Regions from separate parts of the Homo sapiens genome. Here region 1 is linked to region 2. The links are contacts of gene promoters, found by promoter capture Hi-C in blood cells and fetal thymus (Javierre and others, 2016). All regions are on one chromosome and are shown on one strand. Each heading gives the region's core, a stretch centred on a gene start or on the middle of the fragment in contact. The rest is flanking DNA. Distances are from core to core; before and after follow the strand shown.

Evidence for each region. The method cuts DNA at HindIII sites, captures the fragments that hold promoters and counts their contacts. A CHiCAGO score of 5 or more calls a contact.
Region 1: a contact is called between a fragment that was not itself captured here and the fragment with the promoter of GLIPR1 in region 2, in 4 of 17 cell types (monocytes, neutrophils, M1 macrophages and 1 more). The highest score is 8.3, in monocytes.

Annotation. Positions count from the first base shown.
Region 1 is chr12:75,969,779-75,974,304 of GRCh38, reverse strand. No RefSeq gene overlaps it. Among named protein-coding and RNA genes, the nearest start is that of PHLDA1-AS1, 58 kb to the left of the region's middle. The HindIII fragment of the contact is 4,874 bases long and covers 1-4,187 here.
Region 2 is chr12:75,479,222-75,483,622 of GRCh38, reverse strand. GLIPR1 (GLI pathogenesis related 1) reads right to left here and starts at 2,868. Exons shown (of 6, transcript NM_006851.3): 1 at 2,569-2,868; 2 at 1,544-1,789. The coding sequence starts at 2,742. It overlaps GLIPR1-AS1 (GLIPR1 antisense RNA 1), which reads left to right. Exons shown (of 2, transcript XR_007063373.1): 2 at 1-169. RefSeq lists an enhancer at 551-600. The HindIII fragment of the contact is 5,495 bases long and covers 244-4,401 here.

The DNA.
Region 1 (4,526 bases), core at 501-3,000, 490 kb before region 2:
AGTGATCATATTATTGTTATCCTCTTATGATATACTTCTCTCTTTTGTAATATCTATGGCCATTCATTTGTTCATTCTTGATTCATTTGTTTAATCAAAAAATATTTTTTGGGCCGGGTGCGGTGGCTCATGCCTGTAATCCCAGTACTTTGGGAGGCCGAGGCGGGTGGATCACGAGGTCAGGAGATCGAGACCATCCTGGCTAACACGGTGAAACCCTGTCTCTACTAAAAATACAAAAAATTAGCCAGGCGTGGTGGTGGGTGCCTGTAGTGCCAGCTACTTGGGAGGCTGAGGCAGGAGAATGGCGTGAACCCGGGAGGCAGAGATTGCAGTGAGCAGAGATCGCACCACTGCACTCCAGCCTGGGCGACAGAGCGAGACTCCGTCTCAAAAAAAAAAAAAAAAAAAAAAAATTTGATCTCATAGTAAATGCTAGGCAGTGTCTTAGACCCTGGTGATACATAACGATACAGACGAACATCATAGTTTGTTTTATTTTAAACAATTTTCATTTTTTTGCATGAATTTTAAAAACACAATTATGTAATTGCAAGTACTACAAAAAGAAGTTGCTTGTTTGTCATTGATAGGAATAATTAAAAAAAAAAAAGTCATATGTAAGACTCAATGGTAGGGAAATAATGTGGATTTTACTAGGAGATGGAGCAGGAACCTGACAAGAATAAAACCACATGTGTCATTTTCCCTGCTCTTGTCATTGCTGTTTCTACAATGGCAGCAAAAACTTGGGTTATGTTTTCATGGATATTAGTCTCTTCTCCAAGTCATTGTAGAAGCATCATTGATCTGTTTTTTCACTTTGCGTAAGTTACCAAATTTTTCCATATATCTCAAATAGTTAGTATCACACAGTGTTAGAATTGGAAAGGCCCTCCAATGTTTATCTATGAGGAAATTGAGTTTCAGATGGAGAGGTGATTTGTCTAACATTAGTGGCTAGTTAGTAGCAGAGCTAGTTCTGCTCTTCTTCCTCCAAAATGGAATTCCTGAGTTATTTGTTTTCCTAAGATCTATTCCATGATTGACCAGACTACACTATGCTGCCAGCTCCTGTCTGTATCTAACACAGATATTTACATAATGCCTCTCTTGACAATATAGTAATATATATTGAAAGTCTACTGTAAGTAAGCGATGAGCTGAGGGCTTTACACACATGATGTTATTAATCTTCACCCTAACACTTTAAGAGGAATGTTGTTATTGTTTTCATTTTACAGATGAGAAAACAGAGAGACTAAGTCAACGATTCCTTAACTAGCTTTAAAAAGTCAGATTATTCAAGGCCAGGTGCAGTGGCTCATGCCTGTAATCCAAACACTGGGAGGCCAAGGTGGGAGGATCACTTGAAACCAGGAGTTCAAGACCAGCCCAGACAACAAAGTGAGACCCATTTCTACCAAAAAAAACCATATTAGCCAAGCATAGGGGTGCACATCTGTGGTCCCAGCTACTCAGGAGGCTGAGACGGGAGGATCATTTGAGTTCAGGAGTTCAAGCCTGCAGTGAGTCACAATGGTGCCACTGTACTCCAGCCTGGGTGGTAGAACAAGACCTTGTCTCTTAAAAAATTAGATTATCTTGAAGAACAAAATAATGATAGCATTGAATTAAAACTCAGAATAAAATAAATATCCACGAGTCCATACTGATATTGATAAGTAATTGAAAAAATGAAGAGAAGGCACAACTTTTCCTTACAGAACTCTTCCTGGAAAATTCTAACTAATAAAGGTAGAAGGAAGGAAATAGAAACTCACCATTAGAATACCCCATTAATAATTGTTGCAGACATCAGTGTGTGGAAGTTTGAGGAGAAACACAATATTTACTCTCTCAGAGTATCTCCCTCAAGATTATTAATCACAAATGGAGACATACTAACTTGACAGCAGAAAACTCCAGCAGACACCACCTTAATTGAGTGATCCAGGTTAACCTCACCAGTAGTGAGATATAATGATATCTCCTAACCCAAAACGATACACTGAGAAGGGCACTTCACTTTGGTGGCATTCTTGCTAAAAATGTAAAACATCAATCTCATCTTGAGAAAACATCAGACAAACACAAATTGAGCAACATTCTATAAAATATTTACCACTCATCTTCAAAAGTGTCTAGGTCATGAAAGTCAAGGAAAGACTAAGGAACTGTCATAGTGTGGCGGAGACTAAGGGGACATGACGACAAAATGTAATGTGGAATCCTGTAAGAGAAAAAGATTTTGGTGGAAAAACTGGTGAAAATTGAATAAGTATCACTCCATGTAGGTATAGCATTGTGTCAATGTTAATTTCTTATCTTTGATAATTGTGTTATGGCTATGCAAGTTGCTAACATTAAAAGAAGCTAGGTAAAGGACATATGGAAACTGTCTGTACTGTTTTTGCAACAAATTTTTCTTTTCTTTCTTTCCTCCTTTTTTTTTTTGTTTTGTTTTGTTTTTGAGACAAGGTCTTGCTCTGTCACCCAGGCTGGAGTAAAGTGACATAACTCACTGTAGCCTTAAACTCCTGGGCTCAAGTGATCCTTCTGTTTCAGCCTCCTGGGTAGCTGGGTAGCTGGAACAGGTGCATAGCACCAGGCTCAGCTAATTTTAAAAATTTTTGTAGGGATGGTGTATTAGTCGATTCTCATGCTGCTAATAAAGACATACCTGAGACTGGGTAACTTATAAAGGAAAGAAGTTTAATTGACTCACAATTCCACATGGTCGGGGAGGCCTCAGGAAATTTACAATCATGGCAGAAGGTACCTCTTCACAGGGTGGCAGGAGAGAGAATGAGTGCTCAGCAAAGGGGGAAACCCCTTATAAAACCATCAGCTATCATGAGAGCTAACTCATTATCATAAGAATCATGTGGTAACCCCCACCCCCCATGATACAATTATCTCCTCCTGGTCCCTTCCATGACGCATGGGGATTATGGTAACTATGATTCAAGATGAGATTTGGGTGGGGACCCAACCAAATGATATCAGATGGGGTCTTGTCATGTGCAACTTTTCTTTAAGTGTAAACGTATTTCAAAATTGAACCAGGTCCCATTTAAGACTTACTAAATCAGAATTTTGCCAGTTCGTATGATCCAGAACTCTGTACTGTCCTGGGTGACCCCTGTGTCTGAGTTTGCATATGTAGGAAGTGGTAGGACCAGGATTTGAACCTAGGTCTGCCTGATTGCAAAGCTCTTCGCCAGAGCAGGCTGCCTAATAGATACTTGAAGTTAAGTGGAAATCCAGATTAAAAATATCAACAATGTTTGAGATAAAAACACTCAGTGAAAATTATTGTATTTTTATATCTTGTTCTTTTAAATATACAGAGATGATGTTTGGTGATTAAATTGAACTAAAGACTAAATCCTTCTTCCTGATCCTAATTCCCAAGTCATCTTCATTTATTTTAAATAGGCAGCGTAATTATCTCAACCAAATAGGCTATTCCTGAGTTATAGTACCAAAACTTGCTCCATTGTTGGTAGAGAAGAACTCAAAACTGTAATTGCAAATGTCACTGTTGTAAAGTATGGTCAAATCATAAGAATTTAATGATATATGCATTTTGGACTAAGTAAAAAGAGCAAAATCAAATTCTAAAGATAATTATCCAAGCGTGGTTAAAAAAATCAAGGCCTGTTTAATCTGTTTTCTCTCTCATTTGGCCCAGTTCATCTCTCAGATGGCCTCAGACCCTGGCAAGTAGAAGTTCTGAGCAGGCTGGAATTACCCACACTTGGGGAGATAGGTTGCCAAAGAGGTGTGGCTAGGAGGGTGATGAAAAAGGCTCTGTGCCCAAGGCTTCTTCCTTCTCACTAACTTTGGTGCCAGGCACCCTATTAGTGCCTAGAGATGTAGAGATGAATATGGCACAATCCCTGCCTTCAAATCACTCCTGGCTTAGTTTGGGTGAGAGAACTATGGATGGCTCAGAGCTGGGGATTGGACAAGTAAGGGCAAAAAGAAGGGAAAAATTGCTATTGGAACAAAAACTGATTCTCACCATTTCACATACTAGGAGACTGACATGAGTTACCCAGGTGTGATGGCTCTTTGACTTAAAAATTAAACTTGAACTACTTCTTTTTGAGTAGTCAGCCTCTCCTCCTCTGTGGCTGGGCCTGTGGTCTGGAAGGAGAGAAGGAGATTCAGAGAAAGCTTTTGGCTTTGCATAACAAAGCAGCAGGAATTGAGGACTGTCACCTGGCATCTCAAAGGCAACTGGGAATGAGTAGAGCGGTGTGGAAGCTGGGTGCAGCCTGTGCTGACTCAAAGCAGGCAATCTCCTCCGCGTTTCCCCAAATTCTTCGGAGAAAGGAGAACCTTAAAAGGGATGGGGTGAATGGACCCTCTGTCACATAGGAAAGTGAAGAATTGCAACATAATGCAGTGGAGTCATGTGCTGCTTGGGATGAGATCACAGAGGAGCGTCTGCCTAACTTTGATGGGGCAAGGGTGGGGGTTGGAGGTGTGAAAACTTCACAGAAGACATCATGTCT
Region 2 (4,401 bases), core at 1,619-4,118:
GCCAAACACTGTCATAATCCATTTACACATAAGTCTCTCCCAAAAGGTCAATTTCTGAGGGCCAGGGACCATTTCCAGCTGTATTTCTCCTCCTTCCCTGGCTCATTCCCTATTTCTCCTCACTTCCGCTTCTCCAAGATTGTATCCCAATAAAATGTTAGCTCATAAACTATTGTCTCAGGCTCTGTTTTCCAAGAATCTGGACTAAGACATATCACTAGTGCCTGTTATAGGGTAAAAGCTTAAACACTGACTAATAAATAAATGAAAGTAGGCACCCTCAAACTGACAATTATTTCTGAGTATTTAAATACCGCAATGCATAACAGTACAAGTACCACTTGTAGGCTATCTAGATTTAGCTTTCTACTCCCCTAGGTCTTGTTGGAATCCAAGGAAACTTATTTCCTGGTTAAATTTATTTGTAAATGTAAACCAAAATTGTTAGTTTATGAAGTAAATTTAGGAGAAATTCATTTTACTCTTATAATAATTTTTTGTAACTGCACCAAACTTGGTTCATCTGTAGCACCACGAATGAGATCACAGGCTTTGTAAGGCTGAGCTGGAGTAAGGGAGGTTTTCTTACACCATGTTGTTCCTTAAAACCACCTAATGTTTCAATGTAACTGCCTTGATAGAAACGTTTTTGCCTTCATACCTCATTTCAACTGATTTTTTGTGCCCCAAAACAGTCAATTATAGGTTAAGTACCGTACGTTATTGGTTTGACAAGGATGGCCAGGAAGTGACAGTAAATAAACAAAATGTAGCCAGGACAGGAAGGCAGCGTCTGAAGACAATTATGACAGATGCTCCCTAGAGAGTTGTTTCCATCATGCTGCAAATGTGAGGTAGGGTTAGGGAGCCAGAATCAGCTTGAGTAAAAATTAAAAAAAAAAAAAAAAACTCAATGGGTGGCTCTGAATGTGGCTATTGGGACTAATAATATGGATTCTGGGGGCAGAATACCCTCAGAATGGTTCATATAAGTTTACACGTTGGCCTCTCTGTTGGCCTGGGACTGACTTTTTCTCCCTCCTTGTGTAGCACCGTGCGTGGTGCCTAGTGCATGGCACACAGTAGGTTTTCAGTCGATGTTTGAGAGAATGAGAGGTTGTGGAAGCATCAGTTCTTATTGATGTTTCTGTCTGAGAGTCTTGTTTCTTCCAATTTTATAGTCCCAAAACAATTGGCTCAAATTTCATTTAAAACTCATGCTACAGCTGGAACCTGAAAATCCTTTCACTCATAAGGTTCTTTGATTTCTCACAAATGGAATAAAGTCCTATGGGAGAATAGCTGTTACAGGAATTGTTCAAAGCCTGTCCAAGTTGGTGGGCCTCACATATTACCTATTATGTGTTTAGTTCACACAACTAAACTTTTCAAGCATTATTTTCTGTTCTTGGAGGCTGTTCTATTTAACTCCCTTATATTTACAGGTATACTAGCATACTATACATTTTCTTAACTTCATAGTACAATTTTTCTCCTCATACTTGAAAAGACAGTTTCAAGATAATATAGGGCAGATCCTTACCTGAGTGTAGTGGCCACAGACTTTTTTGCATATCCGAGTCTTGAAGTCATAGTCCTGGATTTCGTCATACCAGTTTGTGATGGCGGAAGACACAGAAAAAATGGGCACAGACCCAGTCCAGATGTTCTCTCCCAGTGAAGTGAAGTTTGGGTGCAGCTTGTGGGGTGGCTTCAGCCGTGTATTATGTGAAAACTGGCAATTGCTGGCCCATGCTTTTGCAATTTGGGCTAGTGCTGGGTCCCAAGTCTGCAAAAATAAACATTAAACAATAGGGGGTTCATCTGAAATGTAACTGGGGTGAGTACAGTGGGAATTTGAATGGAAAACGAGGTGAGATAAGGAGAGAAGATACCACTGCATATGAGTCCTCTATAAATATGGTCTTCAAGCACTGAGTAGGGCTGGTAGGAAACGTGACAATTTAGTTTCATGGAATTTAGAATCTAAGTGAGGAAAACTGACATTTCACTGAAGGCTAATTGTGGGCAAAATAGTGTGTGCCGTGTTTCACAACATTATTCCATAACCACAACAGCCCATATCCTAAGAAGTTCAGAAAGGTTAAAAACCAGCTTAAAGCCACAGATCTGAAATTCAATCCCAAGCCTTACTGAATCAAAATCCCATCCTTTCCCCAGATGCCATTCTGCCTACCTGAGCAACTCAGTACTTTGTCAGCAGCAAAAAAAGTAAATTTAGAGACAAAAAAAAAAAAAAAAAAAGAAAACCAAATCACAAAAATTAACAGGGAGGAAGATAACAAAAAGAGAAGTAAAATCCACTGAAAACCAGAAAACAGGAAGTGTCCAAAGAGAAGTAAAATGTGCTGTGGCACTTGCTTATAACAACAGTTGGGTAGACAGAGCTAAACTGGATGTGTTTTGATCACAGACTGTGAATTTACTGCATACATTAATCACAATGAAAAAAAAATCATTCAGTATTACGAAGGTATTAACACCAAAGTCAATACACATTAGTTGTTTCTGACTGACTGACGCCACAATTAATGATATTTTCCTTACCATGTATAGCATATCACTGGCTGTTGGTTTCACCTCTGATCGGAACTTGTTATGGATTCGAACGCAGTCTTTGATGAAATCTTCATTTTCGATATCTGGCAAAATATTTGCTGTGTGTGAATAATTGGAGACAAAAGAAACCATCCAGGCTATTGTAGCAAGTGTGACACGCATGCTTTGTCTGGCATGGAGCCTTGGGAGGCTGCAGTCCAGAGCCGCCGCAGTTTCTGAGAGTGTGATTGCCTGAGTGCTCAGCCCACAGCTTTGCAAACCTAGCCGACTTCAGCTTTGAGAAAACAGAACAGAGCATGAGTTCATCACTAGTTTTAAGAAACGGGTTTCTCCATATATGGTGTGCAGCTCACTTTGTGTTCTTAACCCTGTCTTTTCAGTGGTTTTCAGTGACACAGCACCTATTACGACATAGATTTTTATGAGGCTGTGTCAGACTTCCTTTTGAATTGGGAGATATTTCCAAAGAAAATTCTGAAGTCTCCAGGAATAATAGTCTCCAATTTTTAATGGAGGTTGCGGTGATAAAATGAAAATATCTCTTACTTCTATAAATGCCTCGCAAAATGCTTTCAGAAATCTTTTTCTTTTTAGAGTCATATCAACACATAGTGGTTGGAATATCTGGTTAACATCATAAACTTGACCTAGAATTCATTCACGATGGTAGAAACATGTAAGCGTGTATGTGTGTGTGTGTGTGTGTGTGTGAGAGAGAGAGAGGGAGAGAAAGAGAGAGAGAGAGAAAGAGAGAGAGGGATTGAGAGGGAGAATAGTAGAAAGAATACAGGACTCAAGTTGAGAATTTAGTTTCTGTTTCTAACTAGCTGTAAGACCTTGGACAGGATACAAAACTCTCTAAACCTCAGCCACCTATTGAATGAGACTATGGGACCTTTTCTGCTTCCTTAATTACAGAGGTTTGGCAGGATCAAATGAACTAGCTAATATTAAATTCCTGCCTTGTATATTCACCTTAGTAATACAGAAATAAAAACACAGTCACTGGCCCCAAGGAGCTTACAGTGGTAAGAGCTGTGAGATGGTGATGACAAGGATGTTACAACAGGGGCTGTTGGAGATCTGGATATAGGAAAGCACAGGTAGATATGGACACACAAGAGAGCATACTTAACCCATTCTGGAAACGGCAGAGCCGGCCTACATACAGCAGGTGAGGTCTTTGCTGAGGCTAGAATCAGCTAGGTGTTGATCAAGTGAAAAAGCGCTGGAGAGGAGAAGGGAATTAGAGGGATAGGAACTATATATCTAGTTGTGAAATTGAAGACATGGTGTTATGGCAAGAATAGAGCAAGAACCTCTCCATATTGTCTCCCTCTGTAAATATGGTCTGTAAATAAGTAGTGATTCTGACTGGTAGAAAACTTGATACCTGGTGTCATGGAATTCAGAATCCAAATGATGCTTTCATGCCACTTGGGGGAGAGAAGTTAAGAGTCAGATCAGGAAGGATTTCTCAATTCTGCTAATGATTTTTTATTTTATCACCAAAGTCATGGGAAGTTATTGGAGGATTTTAGCTGTAGGTGGGGTTTAGACCTGGTTTTAGAAAACACGTGTATTTTAGAAAATTAAGAGAGATGGAAAATGGAATGAGGTGGGGAAATATTTCTAATGCAAACAAAAAGTAAAGAAACATTCCAGGCACACCTGTAGCCCCACCTACTCAGAAAGTTGAGGTGGGAGGATAGCTTGATCCCCACAATTTGAGGCTGTGAAGAGCTATAGTCAGGTCACTGCAATCCAGCCTGGGTGACAGAGCGAGGCCCCATCATTAAAAACAAACATACGGGCCAGGCG